Regions from separate parts of the Homo sapiens genome. Here region 2 is linked to region 1. The links are contacts of gene promoters, found by promoter capture Hi-C in human tissues and cell types (Jung and others, 2019). All regions are on one chromosome and are shown on one strand. The core of a region is centred on a gene start or on the middle of the fragment in contact, and the rest is flanking DNA. Distances in the headings are between cores, read along the strand shown.

What was found. The method cuts DNA at HindIII sites, captures the fragments that hold promoters and counts their contacts. A contact is called where the count stands out against the background at its distance.
Region 2: a fragment that was not itself captured here is called in contact with the fragment with the promoter of GABRG2 in region 1 in 3 of the 25 tissues and cell types used here (H1 embryonic stem cells, dorsolateral prefrontal cortex and hippocampus).

What each region holds. Positions count from the first base shown.
Region 1 is chr5:162,062,891-162,069,484 of GRCh38, forward strand. It overlaps GABRG2 (gamma-aminobutyric acid type A receptor subunit gamma2), which reads left to right and starts at 4,883. Exons shown (of 10, transcript NM_198904.4): 1 at 4,883-5,216. The coding sequence starts at 5,110. The HindIII fragment of the contact is 5,062 bases long and covers 1,851-6,594 here.
Region 2 is chr5:162,113,188-162,119,665 of GRCh38, forward strand. The region is part of intron 6 of GABRG2 (gamma-aminobutyric acid type A receptor subunit gamma2); the gene reads left to right. Among named protein-coding and RNA genes, the nearest start is that of GABRG2, 49 kb to the left of the region's middle. The HindIII fragment of the contact is 8,232 bases long and covers 1-6,307 here.

The DNA.
Region 1 (6,594 bases), core at 3,633-6,132:
TGTTTCTATTGACTGTATTAAAAAAATACATACCCACATATACAAATATATATGTATATGTATATATATTTATCCTATTATCTTATACTGTTTTGTGACTTTTTTAAACAATGTACAGGACATTTTGTATATCAATGACATTCTGATTTGTTATATTCTTCTGATTGATTCCTGTTGATTTTTATTATCAATATTATGAGTTAAATTATCGATAAATTAATCTTGGGGAGGATTCATTTTATACTCTTTCAGGTTGGTCAATCTCATTTTCGTCCTTAGAGTAAATCCATTGTTATAGAACAGAGAAAAGTTATGGTCCTTCTAGGGTTTTGAAGGAATGTCAGAGAGGTTTATGAAGACCCCCTCACTTATTGGAATTCAAACTTCAAACTCTGTGTCTCCTGCAGTGAGTGGCAGCTGAAATATTTGCTCAACTTTTTAAGTCTCTCAATTTTTGCTTTCATCTGGGCTTCTTGAAGTCTTTTCTCCTTTTCCACACAAAAGCAAACAAAATTTAAAGGAAGTTTACATACAGATGTGAAGTCTTATACTTCTATCTGTGATTTTCCTGCTCAAGTGAGCAGCTCTGGTAGCCCCAAAGTTTCCTCTTAAACCTCAAGCCAATAAGATTGCTGCCTTCTGCTGATTCTAACCATCCTGCATTTTTGGGATGGAAGGACTTCCTGGATGTTGGACTTTCTGTGCTAAAAACTGGGAAGTTTCCACAGGGGAAAAGCCACAAAATCTTAGATCTCATCCAATTCAATTCAATTTATTTATTTATTTATTTATTTATTTATTTATTTATTTAGACAGAGTTTTGCTATTGTCGCCCAGGCTGGAGTGCAATAGCATGATCTCAGCTCACTGCAATCTCCCCTTCCCAGGTTCAAGCGTTGCTCTTGCCTCAGCCTCCCAAGTAGCTGGGACGACAGGCACGCACCACTACGCCCAGCTAATTTTTTGTATTTTTACGAGAGATGGGGTTTCACCATGTTGGCCAGGCTGGTGTTGAACCTCAGGGTATTCGCCCACCTCGGCCTCTCAAAGCGCTGGGATTACAGGCGTGAGCCACCTCACCCAGCCTCAATTTCGTCTCTTATTGGCCATATCGTCACACTTTCTGCCTCCTTTCAGTAGCATCCTACTACTTCACATATTTGCTTATTTAATATTTTGTCCAATAGTAATAATTATTACCTACAAAATGGTCAACTTTGTCACTACCAGAAGTAGAATATAAATGATATATTTTACTTTTCCAAGTAATGAGAGATTTGATATCAACAACCAAACTTGTCCAACTTATAACCTCATAATTCACTTCTGGGTGTAGTAACTATCACAAAAATAGTAGTAATAATACAATGTCAAATTATAAGCAAAAAAAAAAAAAACTTTATTCATAGAGAATTGACTTGTAAAACAATTTTCCAACATATTGGCAAGGCCTGTTTGGATGAGTGGATTTGGGTGGTAGTTTTCTTCTTTTACTTTCCAATGTTTTTCAAATGTTAGTATAATTAAATAAATACACACACATATACACATATATGCAGCAACTTGGCATACTGAGGATTTTAAACTGAAGGAAATTGAGAAGACCACAGAAGCAAGAAGATCTTTCTGACCTTCTTCTGCACCCCTTCTCTCCTGAATCAGGCCATGGAAACTATAGAGAATTTCCTTCGCTCCTTTTCCCCTGCAGTGGGCCATAAAACCTAGTTGACCTTCCACTGAAAATAGGTCATAAGGCCCTCAACCAAGGGATGTCCTCCCTGTGCCTGGAGAAAAACAATGTCTTTATCTCTGAAGACACAGAGACATGGAGAAGAATCTGAACTAGCAGGCCTCTCTGAGTTCCCCCATTTATGCCCTTTAGATCATATCTGTTTTTGTCCAGTAATGTTTCTGCACAACTATCCACTTCTTTATTTGATTTAGCATAAAATATACAATTTTCCCTGTTTCTTTTGAGCTTTCATTTCTAAAGGCTCCCATGTCACATAGAATTTGTATGAAATAAATATTTATGCCTTTCTATTGTTAATCTGTCATTTGTTATAGGGATCTCAGACATAAAATTTGTATCGGATAGGAAAATATATTATATATTTCCTCTATAATATATACATATATACTATGTGCAATGAGAAGGTAGCATCATGTTTATCAAATAAAGGTTACTTTATTGATTATAAGTATAATCTTAAAAAGGGGCAAGAGTTTACCTCAAAGTTGATAACAAAAGTAATTACTAGATCTCTTATAAACACCAATGAATATAACACATGTTGTAAAATCTTAGGAAATATATTAAAATACTTTTTTTTCAGACAGCAGTCAGCAAATAAGAAAGATCCACAGAGGCATACTGACACCTACTAGCTATGAATGGCACAATTAAATTTGTACTCAGATACTATAAATAGTAAAATTACCTCTATGGTTTCTCTTAATATGCTGGACAAAATTCCATCATTCAATAGCTTCTAATTTATAGGGGCCATTATAAGACTGATAAGGGATTAGTATATGAATCAGTACTTTGTGAATGTGACAGCATTCATTTTCACAGCTTCGTTATGCTTGACAATAAATAAACTCACTTGAGAAACTTAACACAAAAAAATTGGAAATGTCATGTATGGTAGATATTTTATATAGTGTGCAAAAATTGCAACCTTGTGGCCTGGATGCCTACTTGGTTTGGCCTCCTTTGCATTTTAAAAATTAGAACATTTTATTCTGCAATTCTTATTTCCATTTCTTCTGGCAATTCTGACTGGAACTGAACAGTGGCAGCTCCATTTGGATGGAGTATTGGCACTTCAGTGTGCATGGTTTCCACCACTTTACTGATTCATAAACTGCCAATGTCTTCCATTTATCTCACTTGCTTGGGTTTTGTAGGCACTTAAGTAAATACACACATACACACACACACACACACACACACACACACATCTTAGCCTACAAAAGTGTGATTGAATAATTTCACTAAGAAAATATATAGAGCTATAAACAAACTAGGCTCTTTGGAATAAAAATTGTGAACATAAGAAGGGGCATGACATTAGACAGTCATAGTGATGTAGTCCTATAGTCCCAGCTACTTAGGAGGTTGAAGTAGGAGGATTGCTTCAGCCCACGAGTTCGAGGCTGCAGTGAGCTATGATTGTCCCACTGTACTCCAGGCTGGGTCACAGAGCAAGACCTTGTCACTAAATTAAATAAATAAACAAATAAGTAAAAATCAAAGAAGGGGAAAATACCTTCACGGTGCAGCAAAGAACAAGAGCATTATATAAAAAGGGGATTATGTTTGCTCTGCCTCCATTTTAGTCACAATGGAAAGAAGTCAAAACTGCATTTGAATGTGGTTTTCATTGGATTTTTGTCTAAATGCCTTAAGAATAACTCTGCCTAAGGCAGAATTATGAAGCCATGCAGGATTCCAGGTGGGTCTGTCAGGACTTTTTTGCTTCATTGTCAGGATGCATCTCCTCAGCCCATGTGATGGGCAGCAGCCACTGGTAATTCTTTCTGCTTTCCTTGGATATACTTTAGTGTTAGTGATGGAGTGTGGACCTGATTTTCTCATGTTCTATTCCTATGTCTCCTAGACTCCTTACCCAAGTTCCATTCCTGGAAGACTTTTTTCTTGCAAAAAAGGCACTTATTTTGAAACAACTCCTTGTCACTTTCCACAAAGAGCTAAGATTGTTCCTCATCACTACTACTGCTTCCTGCATACTTTCAATGTGGTATCTTGACTTTAAAGAACCATGAAACACTCCCCCACTTTATTTTTCATGATTAATGAAAGGGATTTCCTCTGTGGTGGATGAACTGGTTTGGCATAAAGGGGGTATCTTCTACATATTAGTATCTATAGTAACATTCTAGGCAAGAAAGAAGCATACTAATACCACTCATCCAAACTAAAAACTTTCGGGATTATTACCAAGAACAAAAAATCAACCCCCCACATGACAAACAGAAATCCCTTTGCATTGTTAAATGACCTCCTGATTATACCCCTCTGCCCACCCTTCCTTCAAAAAACAGCCCTCCTATTTTGTGATGTGTAATCTTTATTCAAGCAGCTATCCCCACGCAATTACATTTGTCAAACTTCAAGCAGTTTTGTGTCTGTGCATTTTCACTGGGGTTGGAGAACTGACAAGGGAGGAATGAATCTTGAGTAGCATAGAATTTCTCCATGTCCTTTAATTCTATCAATGTTTTCTTCTCTCATTCAAATTGAATTCACCAAATCTGTCTGCCTACAGGATGACTTACTGAGACACTCACACCTCCCCCACTGTCTGCTCCCCCAGCTCTAACAATGCAACCATGATTTCTAAGACTGTACGAGTTTAAAATAAGGATTCTTGGCAGATCTGACGACCACAAACCTTCTGTCATTGATGATGTAGCTTCTGGGCTTGCTAAAGCATCTCTTGTCCCCATGAATGCCAGTCCTTGCATGCTGGTGTGTGCAGTAAAGGGTTAAAAAGCTTTGGAAAGACACCACGCATGTGTTAATTCGTGCTGCAGCAGCGTGCATCACTTCCACTTTGACCTCATAGTTAATCTGCGTGATAGTTAATCACGCAGAGTCTCTAGTGATTTTTTTCCTATTTATTTTAAATACACACACCCACAGGGCTCTGCCCCCTGTAAAAGAAAAAAAATCAAAACAAACAAATAAATAACCCCAAAGAGATGGACCCAGGGGAGAACGCGTAAGTGTGAGGGGCATGAGTATACACGAGTGTGCGTGTCTTTCCCTCTCCCTTATTTGTCTCCGTATGAGTCTCTCCTTGTACCCTCCCCCTGCCTCGATGATATTACTCCCCCAGACTTGGAAGCCGCTGCCAGAGTGACGCTTTGATGGTATCTGCAAGCGTTTTTGCTGATCTTATCTCTGCCCCCTGAATATTAATTCCCTAATCTGGTAGCAATCCATCTCCCCAGTGAAGGACCTACTAGAGGCAGGTGGGGGGAGCCACCATCAGATCATAAGCATAAGAATAATACAAAGGGGAGGGATTCTTCTGCAACCAAGAGGCAAGAGGCGAGAGAAGGAAAAAAAAAAAAGCGATGAGTTCGCCAAATATATGGAGCACAGGAAGCTCAGTCTACTCGACTCCTGTATTTTCACAGAAAATGACGGTGTGGATTCTGCTCCTGCTGTCGCTCTACCCTGGGTAAGATGTGCCCTTTTTGGCGTCGTTTTGTTCTGAAGAGGTGGGGGGAAGGTGTGGGGAGGGGTAACTCGGGAGACCACCCAGATTTAAAACACTCTCCTAGGATGTGCGGCTTTACAATTTAGGAGAGAGCGAATATATGGGGCGGGGACTGGAGGGAGGAAAGTGGAAGGTCACTTTCGTTAATGTATTCATTTATTGGATTTTATTTTATTTTTTGTTTGGTTTTAGAGTGGAAAAGGTAACCTCATAAAGACTAAATATTTAGGGAGTAGCATTTTGACATTATTGCAATCTGATATCGGAGTGGGCTGTGCTGATACACGCCGGCATTTGAGGCCGTGTTGCAAGCATTTTGGGTGGGGGTCTGATGGAGAAATTTACAAATGGGTCCTGGCGCACACCGGAGAGATATGTGTGAGGGAGCTGGGGGGAGGGGCGGCGGGCGGCCCTGTTCCTGTGTACTAAGGCATCGCATGCTTCTGCACCTGGCATTCTTAAGGTCAGTCAGCCAGGTTTTGCATCCAGTCCCATTGACCCAACAGCCAACTACCCGTGTGCAAACATGGTTCAGCACCAGGGACAGCAGTCCTGGTGAGGGCCAAAGGGATAGAGGCTTGTCTAACCTGATAGAACGTCTCTAAATATACTCAGGGCATCCACAGAGTCAGAGAGAAGGCCAATGAAGCCACGGGGCACTAATGAAATATACAGATCCTGATCTGTTTACCTCTACTCCCTCCTTGATATGGGAAGGGGACTATTGGGCATAGGGTGGAGAACGTAGTTAAATGATTGCATAGGGGAATATACGTCTGGAAAAGAGTTGGCCTTGCTGCAGTGTTGGAAAATATGCTGAACCAGGTGAATGTGATGCCATAATCGTGAAGTACACATTAATGTTTTAAAACCTTGCTGCACTGAATAGAAAAAAAAAGGTAAGGCTGGAGACTGGACTCCTGAAAACCCTGAGAATGTGTATGCCCTGAAGTGCCCGGCATTTAAATTTACTTGAACTTTCCTGAGCTAAGAGTATTAGAGGAGCAACCATCCATGCAGCCTAGCTGACTATTCGTCTACCTACCTAAGCACCTTCCCCGCTCTCCAAGCTTTCTAACTAGGACCAAAGCCATGTTAGAGGTCCACTATTTACATTACTTGCATTCTTCTATACTTTCATTTTGAAATAAAGTTCTATAAATATACCTCTCATATCCTACCAATATAAAGAAAGACACAAACAAAAACTAGCTATAGAAAATATCAAGACAGTGCCCTAACATTTTTTTGTGGGTCGACAATCTTACATGGTAGTTGTAACAAAAGCAGCTGAAAAGGATGGAGGTTAAACTAGTTTTTAAAAAAATTATTGAAACTA
Region 2 (6,478 bases), core at 942-3,441, 48 kb after region 1:
CCTAGGCCTCCCAAAGTTCTGGGGTTACAAGCATGAGCCACCATGCCCAGCCTGGTTTGTTTTTGTATAAGGGTATCTCTGCTGTTCAAGAAATTCACAGTGCTTTACAGTTAACATAGAAAAACACATCATAGATGTCTAATTTTTCACATTTCTCTGTTTTCCAATTTATCCACTCCAAAATTAACTACTCTTTTCAGTGCACCATGTTCCACAATGATGACAAGAAGATATACTAAAAAGTTCTATTCTCTTAAAATTAGTTCTTCTTCCATGCCCACTACAAACCTAATTGTTTTGCCCATAAGCACTTCACTAGCAGCTTTATAAGATGATATCTTTCTTTAGAAACACTGGAGTACAATAAATAAGTTACATTGCCAACAAGACTCAAAGATGAAAGCTTCAGTTTAGACAAGTGAGTTTACTGGATTAGTTTCCAAACATAATTTGTAATCTGCCTATACTCACATGACTAATAGCACCATGTACCAATGATATACTTTCATCATTACATCTATTGTTCATTGCTAAGTGGTGAAGAGTTATGTAGTATCAAAGACAATGTGTAATTCACAAACTGTGTAACGGTTCCTTGTTAAAGAGGTAATGCAATCATGGACACCAATTGTAATCGCCTACTGATCACATTTCCTTATGGGTGGTTTCTTGTTACCAGTATTAGTGACTAAGAGTGAAGTAGAATTGGTATAAAAATAAAATTTTAGGGCTAAATCTTAAAGACCAAGCCCAGTTGTAATTTCACTTACAGGGAAATTACTCCAAAGAGGTAAAGTCAGAGCTTCTGAATTTTGACAGCCCATTATTTGACTCCTGCCTATAGCAGGGTCTTTAGGATGGACAGAGTTAAATTTCATTTTATTTCTCAACTAATAATAAACAACTGATAATTTTCATGGGAAATTTAAAAGATTCTTATATCCTAAACATCTGAGAAAGCCCTCATTCCCATGTAAAAATAATTATGTAGAGCTGAATTATCACCTGTCTCAACATGTGGGTAATACAATCTCCAGTTTACCAAAGTCTCTACTACTCCCTGTCCTATTTCCTATTTTTGGAGTTATGTTTTCTTCTTGAGTTACTGTTTTCATATTTTGGAAAGCAATGTGTAGGTGTATCGCTATAAAAATGGGGAAAATTAGAGATAATTAATATGAGATAGCATATGTATCTGTAGAGATGAAAAATATTATTTTATCTTTTAAAATAAAAGATAATGGGAGGCTGAGGCAGGAGAATCGCTTGAACCCAGGAGGCAGAGGTTGTGGTGAGCCGAGATAGCACCATTTGCACCCCAGCCTAGGCAACAAGAGCGAAATTCTGTCTCAAAAATAAATAAATAAATAAGATAAATAAAGGGCAAAGAGGATTTTTCTATCACAAAATGACACTCTAAAAAATGAATGCTAAAACTATGACTTAACCAAAGTTTGCCTGAAAATAAAGATTAGGTGAATTGCAAAGAAGTGCCAGAATTTTGTCAATCTAGATCTCACCTTTTGACATTCTGCAACTGGGCTTATGTATCATAAATATCTAACATAAGCAATGTTAAGTTCATTCAGTTTATCTCTACTGTCCACTTTCATGGAAGATGGATTTTGAATAAAAATAAAATTGCAAAGTTCTATATATGGACATCTGTGCCTGTAGTCTTCACCGTCTTTTAGTTTCTTTTCCAACTCACATGTAAGCAGCTAAAAGCTTTGTTGCCGTTTTTGGTTTGTTGCCGTTTTGCTTTGTTGTCGTTTTGCTTTGTTGCCATTGTCTTGCACATTAGCAGTCTTGCATTGTCAATCAAACTGATACTTTGTCCCTTTGTAGTTTTCTGAAGATCTACATAGTTAATGTTCTGCAATAAAATCCTATTCTTTACTTACTTTGATAAAATGAGGCAGCTGTGTATAGAGCTCTGCATACCCTATGATTCCCATTTAAAGGTTTCCATTTTGGTTGTGGTATCATGTAGCTGAATGACCTTAAGGAAGTCATTTTCTCTTTGAACCTGCAATTTCTTCATCTCAAAACAAATAAAAATCAGACTAGACTGATTTTGAAGGTTTACTTCACTCCTGAAACACTGTGTCATATTTCCTGGTATTTAACATCTCTGTTACGAAGCAAACATATGGTGGGTATTTGCGTTCTCTATGTCCCCTAGAATTCCTAACAAAACTTTTATCATGTTTTCTTATTATGTCACATTCAGAAATTAACAGATTTACTTTGTCTGTCCCGTGTGGAGATCTTAGGTGAGGGAAGGGGACCAGGGTGTTGCCATAGAGATGGTTGATAAGTTAGCTAAGGTCTGATAAAATGAATTCAGCATGGAAACATAGACCTGCCATGAGTGGGAGGAGCAAGGGTGGATGCTAACTGAAATTACTGTGAATGAGAAATTGGGGATGGGGTGAAGGTAGGACAGTGGCTGTGACATGGCTTTCAGAGAGGAAGGAAAAGATACTCAGGTCTTCAAACAGGAAGAAGATTTGCCATCAAGAGTGCATAAAAGGACCTTAATTTATTAGCCTATTATTTTGTTTTTAATATCTTAATTGTATAAATTGGCTGAACTTGTATAGTCCTGTGAGTCGGCAGTCAAAATAATAATGACACCACTACCTCTAAAATAATAATGATAATGATAATAATGACAATATGTGCTAACATTGTGAAGCACTTTCTATACATCAGCTCATTCATTTTTCACAGCCATTCCATAATATGATGCTCATTTTCCAGATGAAATTTCCAGGTACAACCAACCTTGTAGAAAAGTTGACAGAGAGGGTAAGAACCTTGTGCAATATCATGGTGTAAGTTACTGAATAGACACTCATCTTTCCTGACTGACAGTCTGATTCCAATTATGAATTAAACACCAAGGGGTGTGCGTGCATGTGTGTGTGTGTGTGTGTGTGTGTGTGTGTGTGTGTTTCCAGAAAGGATTACTCTTGGCCCTATTTCTTTATCTAGTGTGTAATTTATGTTCCTGTTATTGTTTTGGCATCTATCCATCTACCAATCTATCTATCTATCTAATCTATCCTTTATCTATTTATCTTAAGCTGATTGCATATAAGTATGGTAGAGTCAGTCTGTATTGGTCAGCTTAATCTAGACAATGCTATGGTAACAAATAACCCTCAAAATCTCAGTGGATTAAAGTAAGAACAATCTCAATTGTTCTACCTCCAGTGTTTCTTTATTCTGTGGTATATCATTCTCATAGCCAAAAGGGGAAATAATAGAAGAGTAAAATTGTCCTTAAAACCTCTGCTTTGTGGGTCTTAAGTAATTTTGACTCACATTCTACTGACCAAAGCAAATCCCAAGAACAAGCCTGATGTCCATGGAATAAGATGCACAATGCTTTCACACAAAGGGGCACCAGGGAAGGCCTCTATAGGGATGGACTTTGTAGGCAGGGGAAGCAAATATCTGGATTACAAAACTGTCACCAACAATTAACAATAGTATAATCCTTTATACTATACATGACTCACCTACCTGGCCATGTCGGAGGGGCCCAGTCACCAGATCTCATGGAGTCTTCTCTAGAAGTAGTGGGGCAGGCAATACTCTGTGACATTTAATTCTGCAATATGGGACCATAACTTTGACAAAGACCTTAGGGAGGTTGAAAGGAATTCCTAATCACGTGAATGGGGAATAGAGTCCCAGGCTTGTGATTTGCCAGTTTTGGTTTCTGTTGGTTTTCAGATCCCAAGATCATGTGCCAGGATAAGTTACTTTTAAAAAGAGAAAGGAATACCATACTCTCAGAGAAAATACTGCCCAAGAATGAAAATGTCTGTCTGAGAATTATCCTCTCAAAAAGAGATTGTTTTGGGTCAAGACTGTCTCACTCTGTCAGTGACCTATAGCATGATTTCTAATTTATGTAAAATTGGTTTCAGAAGAGCAGGTGAGAACACATGATATTAACATGAAAATGATTGTAGGGTGATGGGAACAGTCATATTTTATAAACATAAGCAAAATTTTCTTTGTTGTACTGCTGGGACAGCTTTATTAATTACAAGTCCAAAATATTGGTCCTGTACTAAATTCAATTTTACAGTTATTATTCGGTGTTAACTTCTAAGAAGCGATAAACCAGAATCATCTCCTTGTCAGTAGGAGGAAGTAATTGAAAATGATTTAATAAAGAATGGCTACAAAATAATGTAAAGGTCACATTGTCTTGATTGTTATTATTCTTTTCATGGAAAAAAAAAATCCTTAATGTCTCTAACAGTCCTGTGTAAGAGGAAGATATTGTCAAAAAGAGTAGTTTCAAGCAACTTTTAAAATCTTTTCCTGTATTTAATCTTAACAATTGAGCTACGATTTAACCTTTTCTTTAATGAAGCATTCTTAATTTTGTTCCTCTGTTTTATAGATAAAGTACATGAAGCATAGTGCTAACAATAATTTAAAATATTGCCATATGGCTAGTTATGAGTAGAACTAAAGCTAATTAACAAGTGTAGGGGACCCCAAGCAACTGTTCTCTCCTCTACCCAAGACTGAATTAGTACAAAACAGAATTGCCATTTCATTGGTTGACATTGAATAATTGAGTACTAATAGATATTTTGGTCCTAAAAATCTGCCACTGTTAATATATGCACAGATAAGTAGTGTTGGTAATGATATGGTGATGATAATGATGATGATGATGACGCAGATGCTAAAGCCAACTTTTGTTGAGCATTTCACATATGAAAGACACCGTGTTACGCGCTTCACTAGAACTGTAAACTTGCGACAAATTTTTGCAGGTTTTTGAATTATGGATTCAAATCCTGAGCCAGTATTTGATTTTAGACTCAGCCCCAGAATTTTTGTTGAGTCTTATTTGTAGGTAGTGGTGATTTGGTATAGCAGTTTTGTTTATTTTTTCTCCTCAACTCTTTTTCTGCCATCCATGGTAGTTTTATCAAGGAAAAAAAAACCCAAACTATTGCTGTTCATAGAGGTTCTGATGGTGTGTGTGTGTGTGTGTGTGTGTGTGTGTGTGTCTGTAATAAACATAATAAAAACACGTATTTTCAAGGTACTCATGCCAATTATATACTGTAACAGCCTGATAGGTTTTATTGTTTGCAGTTAATGGCAAGAGTTTTGATAATTAACTCTAACCTAATATGTCTAGTTTTCTTTTTATAGAAACAAGAGTGAGGTGGTAACAGGTGTATCTTGATCAAGGACATTTAAAATCCTTCCCATAACTGGACATATTATCTCTGTCTCAAAGGAAAACTCTGGGTATAATTACATAGGTGCTGTAATAGCAAAACTAGGCTAGAAGTAAAAAGATCTGGCTTTAAGTCCCAGGTAAACTTATAAACATGTGAATATATTTGAGCAAAACTCTCTCTATATATCTATATCTATATCTATATCTGTGCCAGTAAGCAAATTGACACATGAAATAAATGAATCATTTCTCCCAACTCCACAAGGAACAAGGCTGAGATTGTGACTCAAGTTCCTACTTCTCACTCCTGGGTTCCTGTGATCAGATTTTGTCATCGGGACTTAAGAAGGATGACAAGCTGATAACAATCTAGGGTATTATTAAAGCGACACAAAAGGCAAAATTCTGACTTTTCTGCAACTTTGGTGGAAAATTGCTATTAAAAGATGAAGGCTAAATGTGGAAAGGAAAGGATAAAGAATGCTATACTCAGAGGAAGACAGAGGAAGGTCGTATTGGGATGGCCCCTAGGATTAATGCACTTTAACGTAAAGTGAAAAAGGGACTTGTAGCATTGGACTGTTTTGAAGTCCCCAGGGGCATTTGAGAATGCTGGACCCAGTTAAATGCAGTCCTTTAAGTCATTTGAGAATTGAAAATTAAACTTTCAGATAAGGAATATAGGATGAAAGACAATTTGAAATTAGACTCCACACAGAGATATAGAGAAATATTTAAGAGAATTATCCTTTCATATTAAAACATTCAGTGCGTTCTCTTGTCTATATGTAGGGATGCAAGGAGAATTACAAAACTCTGCATTACCTCTAGTCTCTATTCTGTCTGGGGCTGAGAGAAACAAATGCTTATTTCCTCCTGAAAACTGATAACCTATTTTCAACTTTCCAAATTTCTCTCCAGATAATTTCTGTTTACTTCAAGAGTTCATAGTTACCCAATGTTGTAATAATTATTAACATATTTTATTTGTTGAAAACTACTGTGTGCAGCAAACTACCCATAGCAATTCATTTATAGTATATCATAATTCTCTTAAGAACTTTGAAGTAGATATATGATCACTACCCTCCTTTTAGAGATAAGTTTCTTGATTATTTATTCTGGGCCTCCCATGTTCCCAAATAGGGTTCAAGAAGGTAAATTTTCCTTGAGCAGCCCACAGTCCAATGAAATGACAATGATCGAGATGTAACTGAACTTTAGATAATTTTTATATGAATCTCTATG